Regions from separate parts of the Homo sapiens genome. Here region 2 is linked to region 1. The links are contacts of gene promoters, found by promoter capture Hi-C in blood cells and fetal thymus (Javierre and others, 2016). All regions are on one chromosome and are shown on one strand. Each heading gives the region's core, a stretch centred on a gene start or on the middle of the fragment in contact. The rest is flanking DNA. Distances are from core to core; before and after follow the strand shown. Region 1 holds the start of CLYBL-AS2 (CLYBL antisense RNA 2). Region 2 overlaps PCCA (propionyl-CoA carboxylase subunit alpha).

Region 1 (5,277 bases), core at 1,013-3,512:
TCTCTTCCAGCTCCTGCATGGAATGGAGGATCTGACAGTGGCCGTTCCTGGGTATTAAAGCCAGTGCAAAAGATAGAGCGTCCAAAAGGCAACTTCTTCCTTATTTGTGAAGTCAGAAAGTAAAATTTACATTGAAGTGCTAAGCTACATTATTCTGAATATTTTGGCAGTCATATTTGGGCAGATGAGTTGCTTTCCTGAAATTACTCAGCACCGTCATTCATCCTGACAAAAGCTAGTGGTACAGATGCACCTTTGGGACTGAGGCCAAGGTGAAACCTGCGTTTTCCAGGTCTGCCCACTCAGTTTTGGAAGGACTCTCAATAAAACCGGCCTCACACCCCAAGCATCACCCCTCCTGTCCTTAGTAAGTACACTCTGGCTGGAATCTAGGGTCCCAGCATCTAGCCCTTGGGACTTCACATAAATTCATCAAGTATCTTCCTCCACTCAAAAATCTCTTACAGAATCTTTGACATTTTAAGCTTCATTACTGCAAAGTGGATATAGTTCATTCTCAGCTTCAGGATTCCAGAAGCATACATACCAGGTCAGAATGGAGAGGCATCACGCTTTCCTTCAGCAAGCTTCAGGGGAGACAGGATTTAGGGTGGGCTACACATATACCAGTTGTAGGATGTTTTGAACTATATTCTTGCAATCACAGACAGGTTGTCCCAGAGAAAATAATCTGGCTCTAACTTCTCTTGTTATCAGTGAAAAGCAAAAATTACTTAGTGCAGGTATGCTTAAAGGAAGAAAAAGGCAAGAGAAAAGTGAGAGGTAAAAATTATTACCATTTTAATTCCATGATTCTCAGCAATGAAGGAGCATGATTGAAATCCCATGTGCCCAGTCATATCTGTAAATGAGAGTATGATTTTTGAAGACTGTATTCAATTGTTTCAACTTGAGCAATTGCAAGTAAGACTTAGGACTGTGTTTACCAGTTACTGTTATTTACTATTACTTTCTAAATGTGACCTGACTTGAAACCTTTATAGATGCAATTTTTATCCATCACAGAACAAGCTCTAAAGAGGAGAGCAGCTTCAACTTTTTCAAGTATTTTTTTTAAAAGGATTTAACTTTGACCAACACCAAACTTGCATCTTGTTAAGGTAACTAATAACTGACTGCTATAACAATATTTAGAATTTTGTTTAACAGCAACTGTCAAAAAAACAAGTTAAAATAGCCCAGGAGATGGATGGCGATTAACTCTGCGTTCTTTTTAGACTGTGTTATTAATTAGCTCTCTAGACTCAAATAGGTTACATCCTCTGAGCAGTAAATTGCATGCCATTTGCAAGCTCTGTGGATGAAATTTACATGTGGCCTAAATGCTATCCACATTGTTTTGTTAAGTAGCATTTTATCTCTCTGGACTGGTCCCTTGCCTCCTCCCCCAGCCCCAGTGGAAAGTTTTATTCACTTTTCTTGCGGGAAGGGAAAGTCGCATGTAGTTTGGTCATTTGGCGCCATCTTCTTTTTTATTGTTAAATCCACTAAAGGCAGTCATGCCTGGCAGTACCAGGCGGGCTCCTTCCGGGGTTCTGGTCGGCTAAGCATTCAGAGTTCTTTGCTTTTTATTTACTAGAAATGTTTTCAGCTTCTGTCTTTGCTTTAAGATCTGATTAAAAGGAACCTTAAAAAAGGAACATAGATTTTGGTGTATGTTTTTCCTCTCTACTTCTCTTCCCTGTGCCCCCCAAACCCAATCACCAACTTCCCCCATCCCCAGCAAACACGGGCTTTTTTGTGTATTTATTTAAAAGCATTTTAGGAAGCACCGTAATACCGCACAGCTTGGAGGTTAAGATAGAATTGGATGTTTCCCTCACCATCAGTTGATGGAATCATCAGTGTTCCGGTTCTATTTATCTTCATGATTTGAGAATGTTTCTGAACAGCTGCCCTTCCGAGGATGCTGGTATTTAGACAGACCTTCCTGTCATTTATCTGACTCACAGGCACAACTCTTTTGAAAGAATTAATATCAAACTTACATATGAAAATCTACCATTTAGAAATGGATTCTTTTTCAGTACCTACTTTTCAATTCAACCGGGGAGATCCCATCTATTTTAAAAAATCATTAATCACATACTTCTGACATTTTCCCTTTCAGTTTCCTCAGGGGGAAAAAAGTTATTTGAATAACAAACAAACAAACAAAAACCCCTCATCGCAAATAGCTGTCAGCCTCCTATGTGAACAAAAGCGCTCTCTCACACTGAGACCTACCGTGTTTTGTTTAGTTAGAGGCAGCAGGGTGGTAGGGACACTATGCAGAAAGGCTTGGGTTAATGAGCACTTTCTGGATTGAGTGTCTCTCCTGATTAACCCTTGGATTACTTGCTTTGAGTTGCTAACCCTCTCTCACTGCCCACTCAAGAATTTCCCACATGGTAGCCTCATCCATAGATGCCCTTCCCTAGATGCACTGATGGTAGACAGCATAAAAATGTGTAAGCACTGTAGCTTTCCAATGAACTGAAACAAAAAGCTTAAGCATTACTTTTTATTTCCTTGATCTAAAGAACATGTTTTGGGGGATATTTTCTTAATCAATATCTAAGTTATCTAGAGTTATAAATACTATAAATAAATTAGTTACAAACTAATTTTTAGACACAAGTCTTTTGTTCAAACCAACTCTTACATAGAAACTCTAAAAATTTGGGGGGGAAGGGGACAGTTGGGGATCAGAATCACTCCCCATTATCTCTCTGTTGGTGCTCCCCAAAGGATCTTCAGGGAACGACGTTTAAAAACCATTTTGTATCATGAAATGGGACCCGAAAGACATTCTTTCTAGTGACTTTGTGTTAGATTGAGTCATATGAAATTGCCACTGTGTGACCCATTTTGACCTAAAAAAAAAACCAAAAAACAAAAAACAAAAAACCAGCACTAGGGTACCAGAGTATTTTTAGTGTAATCACTGTACGTGATAAGAAAATGGAGAAATGAGAAAGCTTGAAACTTAGACTATAAGCTCCTCATAAGCTAATAGCGACTTCCTCCCTTCTTCCGCAGTCACCTGGCAAGTCCCTTCTATGTGCTGCTGGTTCTAGGGATACAGAGATAAAAGGCGTAGTCACTGCCTCCAAATCATCACAGTGCAAAGGACAAATAAATACAGAAGGACCCATGGGATGAAGAAACAGCCCAGGGTGGTGGGAACACAGAGCGAGAGTTTCTAGGATCTTGAAAGCCATGTTGCACGGAGCTCCCGGTCCCTGAGTTTTCAGACTGATCTTTCTGTGGACTGTGCCTAAGTAATAACAGTTTCAGAACGTAGAAACTCAGTGTACATCCTTCATAGCCAGGATGGATATGATAGCCTGGAAGTGAACAGTAAATCCAGTGATTTGTTTTCTTCACTCATTCTTTCATTTTAAGAAAGTGCTTAGAATCCACAAGTTGTGCTTAATGCCAGCAGACGCATTACATATGCCAGCCCTGCCCCTTAGTCACAATTACTCCCCACACTGACCTCCCATTGCATTTAAAAATTGTCGCTTTATTGAGACATAGTTCAGCTCTCATAAAGTTCACATTTGTTTTTTTTGTTTTTTTTTTTTTGTTTGTTTTTTTGAGACAGTCTTGCTCAGTCACCCAGGCTGGAGTGCAGTGGCATGATCTCGGCTCACTGCAAGCTCCGCCTCCCGGGTTCACGCCATTCCCCGGCCTCAGCCTCCCTAGTAGCTGAGACTACAGGCACCCGCCATCACGCCCGGTTAATTTTTTTGAACTTTTAGTAGAGACGGGGTTTCACCATGTTAGCCAGGATGGTCTTGATCTCCTGACCTTATGATCCACCCGCCTCACCCTCCCAAAGTGCTGGGATTACAGGTGTGAGCTACCGCCTCCAGCCATAAAGTTCACATTTTTAAAGGACACACGTCAGTGGTTTTCAGTCTCTTCACAAAGTTGTGTAATGATCATCACTATCTAATTCTAGAACATTTTCCTTACCCTAAAAGAAACCCCATACCCATTGGGGTTCACTCCCTATGCACCCCTCTTCCTTTCTCCTGACAACCACTAATCTACTTTCTAAATCTATAGATTTGTCTGTTCGGGACATTTCCTATAAATGGGACTATATAAATATGCCCTTTTATCTCTGGCTTCCTTCACTCTGCATAATGTTTTCAAGGTTTGTCCATGTTGTAGCATGCATTAGTACTTCATTCCTTTTTCTGGCCCAGTAATGTTCAATTGTAGGAATATACCCCATTATCCATTCCAATGATGGATATTTTTTGGGGGATATCCACTTTATGGCCATTATAATTTCACTATGAACATTTGTGTACAAGTTTTTGGTTGGACATACGTTTTCATTTTTGTTGGGTATATAGCTAGGAGTGGAATTGCTGGGTCTTATGGTAACTATGTTTAACATTTTGAGGAACTGGGATGTATAGCGTTTTGTGCCTGTGTTATGAAACTAATTATGAAGCATCTTATATTCATTATCATTAGATCTGTCTCCTCCATTAGGTTTTAAGTTTCTTGAGACAGGGATTATCCTTCTTCATCTTTGTATCCCCCACAGTCCAGCACTCACCAAGGCACAAAGTAGGTTCTTAGGAAACTGGTCAGAATAAAACTGACCAATGCAACATCCTCCTTCCCTTAAAATCACCAGCATACCTGGGAACACAGGCTTTCTCTTTCTCTCTTCCCTGTAGCAAGTGACAGCTTATCAGGAATGGAGGCAGCTCGGTATTATCCATCAAGCCTTCCAGCTGGGTGCACACCCTCCTTATCTGCTGTGGGACCTTCACCAGCATCCTGGGATTTCCTCAGGCTGCCTCATCCCCACAACGGCAGTGATGTGACCCACTCTGGTTTATGCAGATACGTTAAGAGAGATTATTTTAAGTACCACTGAAACCCAAGCAGAGGCAAGGCTGGTGGAAACCCCAGTATTTGGGGGCACACTCCCTGTTTGACATGGTTCAGGAATGACTCATACATCTACTTTAAGGGGGATTTGGACAAGGAGGCACTAAGATACCTATCCAGGCTTTGACTTGGGAGCATTGTGCAGGAGGTTTAAGAAAGATTATTTTAAGACTATCTCAGAAGGCTGGAGCAGCATCTTTCTGATTTCTTCTGCTACCTTTCACTCGGAGCCTGTGATTTCTAACATGTATTTCAGGTTGGATTTAAGAGAGAGCTGGCCCCTACTGAATTGGCCACCTTTGATGTTACAGTACTGAGGAGGGGAGGGACAGATGGAACAAAAGTCGTAATTGC
Region 2 (4,653 bases), core at 119-2,618, 540 kb after region 1:
AATTTGATAACTTCAGGCATGGCTGATTTAATTTTTAAACTATGAAAATATGAAGTATGAAATTATGATTCTTATGGTAAAAAAGTTCAACGTGTACCTAAGAGCATACAATTTTAATTTCCCTTTTCCTACAACTTTTAATCCTACCTTTTACATTTATTTATTTATTTATTCTTAAATATAGACAAGGTCTTGCGATGTTGCTTAAGTCAGTACAGAACTCCTGGGCTCAAGTGGTCTTCCTGCCTGGGCCTCCTGAGTAGCTGGGATTATAGGCCTGAGTTACCATGCCCGGCTGTCTGTCCTACTTTTGAGCAGTAAATTGGTTTCTGTAGCTGTCTAATGCTTAAACTTTCCTGTGCGTTCAAATGTGTATTTCTGTCTTAATGTAGGTAAGGTCATACGCTATGTACTCCAACTTGCTACCCCCGCCCCCAGTATATACTTTATTTTGCTTATTTTTACAGTGTAAGAGTTACTCTCTTAAAGCTTAATTGTCATTTGTCATTGCCTTGTATAGAACCAAGGCATCTTGGACTGTGTACCAAATCCCATAAGATCTGGCCAGAACAGGGCCACGCCGTCCATACCTCCTTATCTTGTGCTTTGCTGCCACTTCCTTACTGTGTTTCAGCTTTAGCTGCCTGATATTCTTTCCCTATGAAATTGCTTCCTCATCTAGGATTTTTATATGTGTGGTTCCCTCTGTCTAATGTTCTTTCTCCCTGATCTTTCCATGGTAGCTAGCTGTTTATGTTTATGTGTGTGTGTGTATGCGTGTGTGTGTGTGTGTGTGTGTGTGTGTGTGTGTGTGTGTGGTTTTAGAGACGGAGTCTCACTTTATTTCCCAGGCAGGAGTGCAGTGGCGCCATCATGGCTCACTGCAGCTCTGACCTCCTGGGCTCATGCAATCCTCCTGCCTCAGCCTCCCAAGTAGCTGGGACTACAGGTCCCACCACCACACCCAGTAATTTTTGTATTTTTTTGTAGAGATAGAGATCTTGCCATGTTGCCCAGGCTAGTCTCAAACTCCTACCCTCAAGTGATCCTCCCATCTTGGCCTCCCAAAGTGCTGGGATTACAGGTGTGAGCCACTGTGCTTGGCCTGGCTAGATGTCTTTATCCTTAGGTTTAAAATTTTACTCCAGAAGGGCCCTTTCTGAGCAGCCTGTCTGAAACAAGTTCTCCCTAGTATTCTTGCCTGAGTACTCTGTTTCTATGTAACATTTATTTTAGTTATCAATTGATTTGTTTATTTTCTGTTTCTCTCATTAGTTTGTAATAAGCTCCATGAAGGCAGAAGATGTATTTCATGTAGTGTTGCTGGGCAGATAGTTATTGAATTAATGTATAAGTGGTTGAATAAGAACATATAGATCAACTGCATTCTTTTTAAAGGCTAATATTTCATTTTATGGATGTACCAGTCCTTTGTTGAAGGCTTACTAAATTGTTTTTCAGAATTTTTTTCTTATTAAAACACCACCAACGAATTCAAAATAATGAATTTCTTTGTATGTCTCTCTGTGTTCACTCATGTGGGTATATCTGTAGGATGACTTCCCAGGAGTAAAATTTCAGAACAAAAGATAACGTGTCCTCAAACTTTTGGTAGATACTGACAATTTCTTTTTAAAAAGATTATCCCATTTTCTATGACACCAGTAATATGAGAAGTATTTAACTTTGTCATCCTGGCCATTATCAGATTTTAATTTGCTAGAGGAAAAGTGAGATCTCATTGTTTTAATTTGTATTTCTGTAATTAGGAGCAAGGCTGAGCACAGATATTGTGCTTCTGGAACTGTTTTTCTGTGAGCTTTTAATTTAATCTTTTGTGATGATTGTTGGTCCTTTTTTTAGTTGATTCAGAGTTTGATTAAAGTTTTTTAAACTTATGATGTTATAGGCAACCTTTACAGTGTGATGTCACTTAGTGCCATTGAATTTGGAGCTATATAGGGCTTTTTATCTCTTCAAAAGTAATTTTGTAGAGCCTGATAATAAAACTTCATGTTCTCAAAGACCATATTGGGGCTGAGTGTATAATATTTAGTAGTTTATTATTGAAACAGTAATAGAGATTTTAATGTCCAGTGCATAATAGGTCCTCAGTAAAGTATTTTTGGATGAATGAGTGACAAGTGAAAAGTTAATTTTTAAGGCAGCTTGATTTTATTTGAAAGTTCATTTAGAAGAATCTAATTTTCATAGTAAGAAGACTTAGCATGCTGTTAAGTTGAAAGATAAGCTTGCTTTGTGGCATGCTATAGAAGTGTTGGATTTGTGGCAGTGGAATTTTTAATTTGCTGTGTCAGATATAGATATGGCTTTATGTATCCATACACACCCAGCTATAACATGTATATTCAAATAAGTGACAAAATATGTCTAATGAATTTTTGAATTACCTTTTAAAACTTGCCTGTTAGTTCTCTCAAGTGATGAACTTTTTACAATAGCAGTTTATTTTCTCTCATCACGTTGGAAAGAAATGTTAAAAGTTTTCTTCTAGGTTTATTATAATCCAGTCTTCATCAGCCATCACTCTTCCTGTATTTTGTTCAAGAGGCACTAATTGTTCGCATTTGGCAGGTTTAACACTTCCTGACAGAGAGGCTATTAAGGGGAAGTATTCTCCAATAACTGTCACTGGCTGGAACAAAGAACCTTCCAACTCAATGTGTGGAAACCACTAACATTCTTAAATGACCCTTTTCATGGATTTTCATCCCTTTAAGCTAAAGTTTGGAGAATGTAGGGTCAGCGAAAACAGCAACGTGTAATAAAGCAGTAAACCTTGATTTTGGAAGGCATAGGGTGGGAGATATAGATTTATCTCTGACTTGAAAACAATTGTTATTTGGAAAATCTCATTAGCAGATGTGACTGCTTGGAGTAAAAAAAAAAAAAAACAACTTAAAACTGATGTCGCTTTCAGGACCCCTTTGAACTTAACAAGCACCTATTTGTGGAGCAGACTGGCTAATGAAAGGAAATTAAATTTTTCTGACAACTTCCCCTGCCAACCTCCTTATTCAGGGGATGTTATTAGGTACTGAAGAACTTTAAAGAAGATTTTTTTTTATTAGACATAAGTGAACCAGTTATAAACATCCCCCCCCGCCCCCTTCTCGGAGGATTCTGACATGGTTGCTCTACATTTTAAACGTATTAGCTTAAAAGCTTAAAAAACACTGGGCTTCACTTCAGCATTTTAGTCATTTTCTAAAAATTCAGTCACACTTACCAGCTGTGGTTTCAAAACAATATTGTCAGTCTTTGTGGTAGTTTAGTTTGTGTCACTGAATTACACAAACACACACACACACACACACACCCCACACATACCCACACACACGAAGGAGGCTTAGATTTCAACATTATCTTTATTGTTATTTGGGGAAATGATTCAGCAGTGTCCTGTGTTGGATGTGTTAGGTGAGGGTTAATGATCAGTGAAATTACTTAGATTCAAGGGAAGTTTTTGTCTTTTCATCTTCTTAGAGGTAGAAGTGGCATTGGTTAATATTTAGCAATAACTAATCCTTAAATGGATAAACTTTTACCCCTTACTGTTTAGGAAGGTATTTTCTTTCTTTTGCTTTTTGGAGTTTTTTCCTCCAGTAGTTGGTTCGTTGAAATTAAAGTTTTTTTTTAATTTATGTAACAAGATACAATTGTAGAGATAAAATATGTACCTGAAAAAAAAAAAAAAGAAAGAAACAATAGAAAAGAAAAGGTAATGCAGATTACCAAAAGGATTTTTTGGAACAATTCGTAATTCCTGTAGGTACTGGAAATTAACTTTCATATTTCTGCAAAATCGATCAACTACTCCCAAACAATAGAGAATCAACTCCCCCTGCTGACAGAATCTAGGAAAACATGACACATAATATTGGACAGAAACAAGCTGGCTGCGGACAAGCTTTAATGACCTGATTTATGATTCAGTATTGATTGTAAACATCTAAATTCTGCCATTAAATTCCGGCAACTGCACCAAATCATTGGCAATTCTGGTAGTGCTTCCTGCCAGCTCATTTCAACTGCTTTGAGTTTCTTAATATAATAATGATGAGGTAGAATTTACATTCCACTTATGGTATTAATTTTACATTTCTCTGAATGAAAAGGGTTAGAAGGTAGTAAAATTGAACATTAAATGAATCGGAGGAGACAGTAGTGCAATATATGACTGCCCTAAAGACATTGTGCAATGCCTCATGGGATTAATGTTGAGTCTCATTTCCTGCTTTTACAGGATGCAGAAGAAGCTGTCAGAATTGCAAGGGAAATTGGTAAGTCCTTAAATTAACTTTGGTAGGATTTCTGTGTCTTTCAGCAGATACGGTTGAGTCAACAGGTAATAAGTAATTCCCATAGAGCAAATAATACTTTAATAGTTTTAGATTTTGATTACTTGTTGCTCTGGAAGAATGTATCAGTTGAATTGCCAAATTCTATTATTAAAGGAGACTGTAAAGAGTAATTTGACCTTAACTATACATAACTCTTTTGTAAGATGAGATCACAGGCTAATTCAAAGAAGGAATTGTCTTAAGAATTCTAAAGATTGGATATAAGTTTAATGTCAATTTATATGTACATAGTTGAATGTGGTTTGTTAAAATTAAGAACATTTGGATT

Evidence for each region. Contacts are between HindIII fragments. The CHiCAGO score rates a contact against its expected background, and 5 or more counts as called.
Region 2: a fragment that was not itself captured here is called in contact with the fragment with the promoter of CLYBL-AS2 in region 1 in 2 of 17 cell types (megakaryocytes and naive CD8 T cells); the score reaches 7.3 in megakaryocytes.

The regions. Positions count from the first base shown.
Region 1 is chr13:99,688,709-99,693,985 of GRCh38, forward strand. CLYBL-AS2 (CLYBL antisense RNA 2) reads right to left here and starts at 2,263. Exons shown (of 2, transcript NR_046526.1): 1 at 1,845-2,263; 2 at 1,390-1,648. The region is part of intron 1 of CLYBL (citramalyl-CoA lyase); the gene reads left to right. It overlaps LOC124903199 (a long non-coding RNA gene), which reads left to right. Exons shown (of 2, transcript XR_007063848.1): 2 at 1-1,661. RefSeq lists a silencer at 2,107-2,401 and an enhancer at 3,442-4,199. The HindIII fragment of the contact is 1,922 bases long and covers 586-2,507 here.
Region 2 is chr13:100,231,575-100,236,227 of GRCh38, forward strand. PCCA (propionyl-CoA carboxylase subunit alpha) reads left to right here. Exons shown (of 24, transcript NM_000282.4): 8 at 4,268-4,304. Among named protein-coding and RNA genes, the nearest start is that of PCCA, 140 kb to the left of the region's middle. The HindIII fragment of the contact is 1,762 bases long and covers 488-2,249 here.